Regions from separate parts of the Homo sapiens genome. Here all the other regions are linked to region 2. Evidence: promoter capture Hi-C in human tissues and cell types (Jung and others, 2019). All regions are on one chromosome and are shown on one strand. Each heading gives the region's core, a stretch centred on a gene start or on the middle of the fragment in contact. The rest is flanking DNA. Distances are from core to core; before and after follow the strand shown.

What was found. The method cuts DNA at HindIII sites, captures the fragments that hold promoters and counts their contacts. A contact is called where the count stands out against the background at its distance.
Region 1: a contact is called between a fragment that was not itself captured here and the fragment with the promoter of CBFA2T2 in region 2, in 4 of the 25 tissues and cell types used here (aorta, dorsolateral prefrontal cortex, mesenchymal stem cells and 1 more).
Region 3: the fragment with the promoter of CDK5RAP1 here is called in contact with the fragment with the promoter of CBFA2T2 in region 2 in 3 of the 25 tissues and cell types used here (IMR-90 fibroblasts, aorta and stomach).

Annotation. Positions count from the first base shown.
Region 1 is chr20:33,575,827-33,578,870 of GRCh38, reverse strand. The region is part of intron 1 of CBFA2T2 (CBFA2/RUNX1 partner transcriptional co-repressor 2); the gene reads right to left. Among named protein-coding and RNA genes, the nearest start is that of C20orf144, 85 kb to the left of the region's middle. The HindIII fragment of the contact is 7,720 bases long and covers 1-3,044 here.
Region 2 is chr20:33,488,780-33,491,923 of GRCh38, reverse strand. It overlaps CBFA2T2 (CBFA2/RUNX1 partner transcriptional co-repressor 2), which reads right to left and starts at 1,828. Exons shown (of 11, transcript NM_001032999.3): 1 at 1,623-1,828. The coding sequence starts at 1,656. RefSeq lists silencers at 1,509-1,788, 1,799-2,018 and an enhancer at 2,113-2,661. The HindIII fragment of the contact is 17,917 bases long and covers 1-3,144 here.
Region 3 is chr20:33,400,089-33,402,923 of GRCh38, reverse strand. CDK5RAP1 (CDK5RAP1 mitochondrial tRNA methylthiotransferase) reads left to right here and starts at 1,405. Exons shown (of 14, transcript NM_016408.4): 1 at 1,405-1,496. LOC124904889 (a long non-coding RNA gene) reads right to left here and starts at 1,342. Exons shown (of 2, transcript XR_007067567.1): 1 at 1,249-1,342. RefSeq lists enhancers at 1,265-1,464, 1,605-1,694. The HindIII fragment of the contact is 17,720 bases long and covers 1-2,835 here.

The DNA.
Region 1 (3,044 bases), core at 272-2,771, 87 kb before region 2:
CTGTGTAGAGCCAGTTTATGCCATCCTTCAGATTTCCTGCAGTATTTCATCCTGAAGGCTGAGCTTGATAATCGGACCAGCACTCTTGCATCCTGACTGACCAGCATTCACTTCTAATCAATAACAGATGTGGGAATGGTGCCAGAGTGGGCCTTATGCCAAAGTAACAATTTTTCTCCTATTCAAGAGAAAATACCCTTCTTAAGCTCCCAAGTCATCCAAACAGAGAGAATGACATCTGGAAATACACTGCCATGTCATGTGGTTGGCCCCTTTGGATGATAGCTGTATGCACCACAAGCAGAGGGCTGTTGTGCTAGCCTTGTGGGACACCTCAGAGTATGGCAACTCTACAACCTTATGACAGGGAGAAAGTGCTAAAAGCTCTAAGAGAAAAATAGTAGCAAATGGGTACAAACATAAGTTTACTTAAGAAAATTCCCTTCATTATGGTTCTTTCTACAAATCAATTGAAATCATCTTCTCATTTCCACATTAAACTTTAGGCCCAAATTCTCTATTTGCTCACAGCCTTAACTTCTCAACTCCTTACCATTTTGGGGGGATCTATTTTTAAAAACCAAGGAAACTAATACTCAATGTAAATTAATTCAATCATATATAAATTGCCCTAGAAAAAATTTTAGAGGTGGAAAAATTTTAATTAGGTGTACCAATACTAAAGTAGTCAGCTGTAAAGGAAAAAATAAATATGAATATTAACAATTGATATTTTGATGTTATTTGTGACCAACTGACCACAAAGGAAAGCTGATTTAAAAGCCTTTCTTCAGATGCCCAGGAACACCGTACACACCTTCTCAATCCACACTGATAATGAAGCAAGTTTCATATTTACCCAAGATTTGAGTAGGACAAGACTTTCTTGCTGGGAAGGATAAATACAAGTCAGGAAATAACTATAATAGTAATAGCTACCATTACTCTCCATCTTCATATATTCATTTAGAAATAACAAAATATTTATTACACGCAAAGAATGGTGCTAAAATATTTTCTTATTTAAATGACACTAAGACAGTAGAAGGTACCATCTCCAATACCACTTTATTTAACCAGAAGCTAAGGCTCAGAGAAGTCAAAAATTATGTCCCAAGTCATATGGCTAAGAAATGGCAGCTCTGCTGAGCTCCAGAGACCATACTATAGCAAAATAAATAATGCAAAAAGAATTAATTATTGTAGGACTCAATGAAGTTTGCACATTGTGACCAAGAATTTAATAAAACACATTGATTACAGTTCAGAGAGACTTCACATTCTACTATATAGTTCCTGTCTTTCTTCACAAATATATGAACGTAAATACACAGTCTACAGCTGAAGCACACCCTGGACAAGTTAGAAAATTGAAGCATAGAAGCTGTTATGTAGGAGCCCATTTAAGTCCCCAAATGACAATCAGAGAGGCTTCTGACAAAAAGCCCCACTGTCAAATACATGGGCTTAAGGAGTGGCAATGGGGTGCCTTAAGGAGTAAGAACAAATAAGCCAAGATTTCAAAGATGTTGGCTCCACACCAAGATCACCCTTCTCTTCTTGGTATACCTCCTCAAAATCAACAATCCAGAAAGTTTTTATCCATCAATATTTTTAAAAATCCAGGTATATTAGAAAAATGGATAAATACTTAGTATAGGCACAAGTCTAAAATGATCAACAGCCATCACTGCTTACTGAAATGATTATTTAACAATGACACTCTGAAAGATAACCAGGTACTCTACTGTGTTTTCCAAATAGACTGAAAGATGGAGGCAGAACAAAATCAGCTAGAAAAACAATTTCTTTGGCAAACATTTCAGTGACACAATCAGCACCCTCTCAATTCATCTATTATGGAGTGCTCCATCTTTTTTTGGCATTGAACTAAAATTAGGACAGGGAAGATGGACTAAATATGGCAATAAATAAACAGAGAAAAGTAGCAGCTATAAGATCTCATAGACCACTCCACCCAGTACAGAATAAAACTCCCAGAGATGGAGCACACTTATACACTTGGAACGGTTTAACTCATATTCTTCCAAACTCTGTGATTCTTCACAAGTGTGAGCAGAAATACGGATGTGCTGTAGCAAAAATGTACAGCTGCAGCCTGCAGATGTCGAGCTGTTAGCTCTGTGATCAGCAGCCATGCTGTCTGCCTTGCTGGCGCCCTCCTGGTGGCTGCCTCAGTCAGCACTCTGGGCTGTGCCCAGAAAATTGGGAGAGGTTATTCCTGTTGGGCAGCACCCTTTGCAATCAAGAGATGAAAAAAAGACCTTCTTATCTGGGAAATGAAATGCTGATATGATGGTGATGTCTCAGTTTTCTCCTCTATAAAAATAAAAACACTACCAGCTGGCTTTTATTTCCTATCCCTGAGGGGCTGTTATTTGGATAAAAAGCTTTGAAAATTAAAAGCACCATGCAAATATAAGGCTATAGTATAGTGGAGACTGAATCCAAACAACATAAATGGAAGGTAGATGGGCACTCTGGCAGGGCAAGTATCCATGTCTGCCATCAGAGCAAACTCCTAAGTTCCAGTATCTACTTTTATATTAAGATGAGACCTCTGCTAGATATTAAGGAGGCAGAAAGCCTATAAAACAGGTTGTGCTCTCCACCTGCAATGCCCTGCTTTCCCTGTCTCTGGCACTTTAGAAACTCCTACTTTAAGGTCTAACTCCAAGTCCTCCCTGGTAGACTCAAGTGCACCTTGACAGAAATAAAACCTCCCACATTTGGACTCTTACAGCTTCTTATAAACACCTCTTAGGCCAGGCGCGGTGGCTCACGCCTGTAATCCCAACACTTTGGGAGGCCAAGGTGGGCGGATCACGAGATCAGGAGATCGAGGCCATCCTGGCTAACATGGTGAAACCCCGTCTCTACTAAAAATACATTAAAAAAAAAAAAATTAGCCAGGCGTGGTGGCTGGCGCCTGTAGTCCCAGCTACTCGGGAGGCTGAGGCAGGAGAGTGGTGTGAACCCGGGAGGTGGAGCTTGCAGTGAGCTGAGATCGCGCCACTGCACTC
Region 2 (3,144 bases), core at 579-3,078:
GGGCAACAAGAACAAAACTCCGTCTCAAAAAAAATAATAAAATAAAATAAAATAATTGGCCGAGCGTGGTGGCATATGCCTGTAGTCCCAGCTACTCCGGAGGCTGAGACAGGAGAATAGCTTGAACCCAGGAGACGGAGGTTGCAGTGAGCCAAGATCACACCCCTGCACTCCAGTCTGGGCGACAGAGCAAGATTCCGTCTCAAAAAAAAAAAAGCCTTTCATTTTACAGAGATGCTGTACCTTTGCAAGCCTAAAAGAGTAATCACTATCCGCCTCTTTAGTTGGAAATTTCATGAGGAATGGATCAAACCATCAAAAGCAGTAACTGCAAGCTGGGTGTATCTACTTTTTCTATCTTCAATCCAACATTTAATGGGTGCAAAAAAAAAGAAGCGTAAAGCCTCCCTTTCACGTGTTTAAGGACATCAGCTCTGAGACTAGTACTCAGAGTACCTTCTGTTACTCAGTTTCATCCTCTGCAAAATGGGCATCCTCAAATAATGTCTTACTTAGGATGTCATCAAGATTAAACAATTAAAAAAACATGCAAAACATGTTTATCTGTTTCCTCATTTACTATGTCTCTCCCTCTCCTAACTAAACTCAAAACCCCAGTTCGGTCTATCTTGTTTATTGTATTCCCAGGGCCTGGAATGGTATTTTTAAACTTACTATATGATTTAATAAATATTAAGTGAATAGAATGCAAAATGTCTGGTGCTCAAAAAAATGTTGGCTATTATAATTACAATAATGAAAAACAATTAAAATTTTATTGTTCTTATTCAGAGAAGCCACCCCTCCCCCAAGGATCTCACACATCAAGGAGGAACACTAGATAAATACTGGAATGGCTAAATGGAAGTAAGAATAACAATTAGATCATGGAGCAGGACTAACAGACAACAAAACAAAATCTTAACACGGCTAGAGCCTAATTTCGGACTTTTCCGAGTGCGGTGCACACTGGATCAGATTAATAAAGGACGATTACAATAATGACAGTTTTCACAATTGTGTGTGTGCCACGGTCGGTGTCAAGCGTTTTACTGGCCTCACAAAACCCAAGAACCCTGGGGGAGGGAGGGAACCCGCTCCACATCCCCATTTTGCAGATGGGGGAACTGAGGCACCGGGAGAGCCAAGGTCACTACCTAAATGGGGAAGCCTGGATGTGAACCCAGGTAGCCAACTACTGAGCCTGCGCTCAAACAGGCCCTCCGAGGGGCCATTCTCATCTCCTCCAACCCTCAACATCGGGCGGGTGTAGTATTTCCCCAGGAGCCGGACTTCGTGGCCCCAGCGCTGGGACAACAAAATGATTCTTGCCCGCCGGCAAGTCCCATGGACGCCGGCCCGGCCTAAGTTCCGAGGCCGCGGGCCCCACAATTTCCCTCACACCGTGAGCCCCGAGCTCTTCGGGCGGCGCAGGAAGCGACGGGGTGGCCTCAGGAGCCCGGGAAGGCCCGCCCCGCTGCGTGACCTTGGATCCGCCGCCCCGCTTCGGGCCTCAGTTTCCACTCCCGGCCTCGCGCCCGGGGCACTCGGAATCACCGCGCCTGCGGAGCCGCAGGCCCTCACACGCCCCCCTCGGCCGCCCGCATTCACGCCCCACTTACGCTGGAAGGCGGCCGCTCCAGGGACGCCTACCATCGCCGAGCGCCGCCGCCGCGCGCCGCCCGCCTCTACCCGCGACACGGGTCCCTCGCAGGCGCCGCCCGCCTCGACCCGCGGCCCGGGTCCCTCGCAGGCGTCGCCGCGAGATCTGCAGCCGCCGAGCTAACCAGACACCACCACCGCTGCTGTCGCCGTCGCCGCCGCCGCCGCCGCCGTTAGGCCGCGCCCCGCCCCGCCCCCGGCTGGCCCCGCCCCGCCCGCCGGGCACGCCCCCGCCGCGCGCTCTCGCCGCCAGGCCAACGCACGCGGAAGCCCGGCCCCAAGACCAGCTCCCATTAAGCACCGCCCCCTAACCTGACCCGCCCCTTCCGCGGGAACCGACCGCCGAATCCCGGCGCAGCCTGCTTCTCAGACCTGCCCCCTCGGCGTCACGCGCGCCCGTCACGCGCACGGCCCACTTTCTAGCTCCAGACTTCCCGGTGTAGCCAGGGCAGTGGCCCAGGCTCGGGGGCCGAGTGCTAGGGGGAGGGATTACAACGAGTGGCAACGTCTCACCTGAGTTCTCCAGGTACAGGCCTGATGGCTTTTGCGCATGCCTTTGAGCGAGCCCCCTGGCTCAAAGTGTTTTTGGCCTGAAGTATTCTAAATGCCTAAAATTTCATCATCGTAATTTTAATAACTGTTGGCCGGGCGTGGTGGCCCACGCCTGTAATCCTAGTACTTTGGGAGGCCAAAGGAGAGTCACTTGAGCTCAGGAGTTTGAGACTAGCGTCTCTATTAAAAAAATAAATAAATAAAAATAAAAAATAGACCAGGCACGGTGGCTCAGGCCTATAATCCTAACACTTTGGGAGGCCGAGGAGGGTGGATTACCTGAGGTCAGAACTTCGAGGCTAGTCTGGCCAATGTGGCGAAACGCTGTCTCTACTAAAAATACAAAACTTAGAGCCGGGCGCAGTGGCTCAAGCCTGTAATCCTAGCACTTTGGGAGGCCGAGGCGGGAGGATCACGAGGTCAGGAGTTTGAAGACCAGTCTGGCCTATAAGGTGAAACCCTATCTCTACTAAAAAAATAAATAAATAAAAATACAAAAATTAGCCTGGTGCGGTGGCGCGTGCCTTTAGTCCCAGCTACTCGGGAGGCTGGGGCAGGAGAATCACTTGAATCCGGGAGGGGGAGGTTGCAGTGAGCCGAGATCGGAGCCATTGCACTCCAGCCTGAGCAAAAAGAGCAAAACTCCGTATCAAAAAAACAAAACAAGGCCAGGAGCTGTGGCTCACCCCTGTAATCCCAGCACTTTGGGACGCCGAAGCTGGCAGATCACAGCTCAGGATTTGGAGACCAGCCTGACCAACGTGGTGAAACCCCGTCTGTACTAAAAATACAAAAATTAGCTGGACTTGGTTTCACAAGCCTGTAATCCCAGCTAATCAGGAGGCTGAGACAGGAGAATTGCTTGAACCCCGGAGGCGGAGGTTGCACCGAGCCAAGATCACGACACTGCACTCCCACCTGGGTGACAGA
Region 3 (2,835 bases), core at 156-2,655, 89 kb after region 2:
CTGAGTAGCTGGGACCACAGGTACCCACCACCATGCCGGGGTAATTTTTGTGTTTTTTGTAGAGATGGGGTTTTATCATGTTGCTCAGGCTAGTCTAGAACTCCTGGGCTCAAGCAATCTGCCCATCTTGGCCTCCCAAAGTGCTGGGATTACAGATGTGAGCCACCACGCCCGGCCTGCCACGGAGAGTTTTCAGGAGAGGGGTGATATAATTTGATTTAATAAAACAAACACAAATTCCCTTAGGCTATGTGTGGGAAACTGTTCTCAGGAGACAAGGTGACCATTAGCAGGCTACTGTGATTGTTTCTGATGAGACAATGGTGGCCTGGGTAGTTGTAGCTACCGAGTAGACAGATTTGACATTTTGGAGTTAGAGTTGACAGGGCTTACTGACAGATAGAATGTGGGGATCCAGGGAGGTGAAGAAAATGACCATTCAGTTCCTCCTAGTGCACCTGGAAGGATGGTTGGGCCATTTACTGAGATGGGCCAGAATGACAGGTACAGGTTTTTGGTGAAGGTGCATGTGTGGAAATGAAGAGTTCTGTATAAGTTAGAGATGGTCATCAGACACTCAAGAAGGGGTGTCAAGTAGGCAGCTGAGCTATGGCTCTGGTACTGCAGGGAGGGTCCAGCTGGAGATGTGAATCAGGAAGTCATTAACCTACAGGGCAGCACCCTCCAATAGAAATAGAGCGTGAACCTCTTAGGTGACTTAAAATTTCCCAGTAAGGACCGGACACGGTGGCTCATGCCTACAATCCCAGCACTTTGGGAGGCCAAGGTGGGAGGATGGCTTGCGCCTAGGTAGGAGTTTGAGACCAGCCTGGGCAACATGGGGAGACCGGTCTCTACAAAAAAATTAAAAAAATTTTAGCTGGGCGTGGTGGCGCCTGCCTGTAGTCCCAGCCACTTGGGAGTGTGAGGTGGGAGGATTGCTTTAGCATGGGAGGCGGAAGCTGCAGTGAGCCATGATCACACCATATTATTTTTCCCCCTGCTAGCCACATTGAAAAAGTAAAAAGAAACAACAGGTGAACTTAATTCAAATATTTCTACCACCATAGCTACAAATAAAAAAAACTAATTCAACAAATGTACTTATTTAATCCAATATATCCCAACAATTATTGCAGCACATAATCAATATAAACATTATATATATGAACTATTTGACACTATTTGACATTTCTTCTTCCACATCCAGTGTATCTGACATTTAGCGCACATTTGATTTGCACTCACCCACTTTGAGGAGCTCAATTGCCGCTTAAGTCCGTGGCTAGTGGCTGCCCTAAAGTTCAGCACCGCCACGGAGCTTTGGGTCCACCCGGACTGTAAAAAGGAAGCACTTCCGTTAGCATGACCCGGCCTGAAGTAGCGGCGGAACGGAAGTCGCTTGTGTATGAACGCAGCGGCGGACCTGTGAGGGGATCCGACTTGCCGGCAGAACTTACGCTGCGGGACCCCGGGCACTGTTGCTGCTGCGGGAGGTGAGCAGCGCGGCCGCCGGGGTGGGCTGCGCACCCGCTTTTGACTGGCGCCTGGGGCAGGAGGGGCCGCGGATCCCGGGAAGCGCACGGTGTTCAAGAGGGAGGATGGCACGGTGGTTATGGCGTGGGGCCTGGCGTCAGGCTGTAGGGGTTCGTACCCTAACCCCGCCGCCTAACCCCGTGTGACCTTGGACAGGTCACCTCCACTTCTTTCAAGGCTTCGCTTCGCCACCCGTGAAGTGGGGTTGACAGTACAGCCTGCCTCACAGGGTTGCTATGAGGGTTATAGGTAATAATTCGCGGAAAATGCTTTGCACCATGCCTAACGCATTGTAACCAGCCAATAAAATGTTTGGGATGTTGTACGCTGTTGTTCCAGCCTCATTGCCGACTGTCAGAATTAATTTCGAGCCTCCAGAGAGGCTTCTACATTGCGTTATGCAAAGCATTTTGCTTGTATTATTGCATTTGATCCTACGGTAGGCTTATGGAGATAGGTGCTATTATCCCCATCTAGAGGCTCCCAGAGTTTAAGACAGGTGCCTAAGGTTTAGCTGGCTTGGCAGCAGTGGGGTCAGATTCTGACTCCAGGGTCCATACTTTTTTTTTCTTGAGACGGGAGTCTTGCTCTGTCGCCCAGGCTGGAGTGCAGTGACGCGATCTCGGCTCACTGTAGCCCCTGCCCCGCGAGTTCCAGCGATTCTCCTGCCTCAGCCTCCTGGGTAGCTAGGATTACAGGCGCATACCACCACACCCGGCTAAGTTTTGTATTTTTAGTGGAGTTCATACTCTTAACCAGGATGCTCTAATACTCTCTGTGAAAGGGGGTGTGGGCTGTAAATGTGCAGTTAGTGAACGCTTACTGTATCTCAAGTTGGGTTTTTAATATCTTATTCTTAATAACACTTATGGGGTGGTAGGTGCTGCTTTTATCCTTATTTTACACATGTGGAATTGGCGGCTCAGAGACAGAAATTTGTCTTGCCAAAGGTCACACAGCAATTATGGAGTAGAAAGGGGCGATTTTAAAGTTCACACTTTAAGGCTGTTCTTCTCTGACTCTTGAAACTGGGTTGGCATTGCTCCTAAGTGCTAGTAGCAGATGTGGCAGGTCATCTCATTGGAAAGGTAATGGGCCACATCTGCTCTTTACACGTGTATAGCAGGGTTCCCCTAACCCTAGGTGGTAGAATGGTACCTGTCTGTGGCCTGTGAGGAACCGGGTTGCACAGCAGGAGGTGAGCAGCAAAGCTGGCATTACTGCCTGAGCTCTGCCTCCCGTCAGATTGGCCACGGAATTAGTTTCTCAGGAACACAAACCCTATTGTGAACTGCGTAT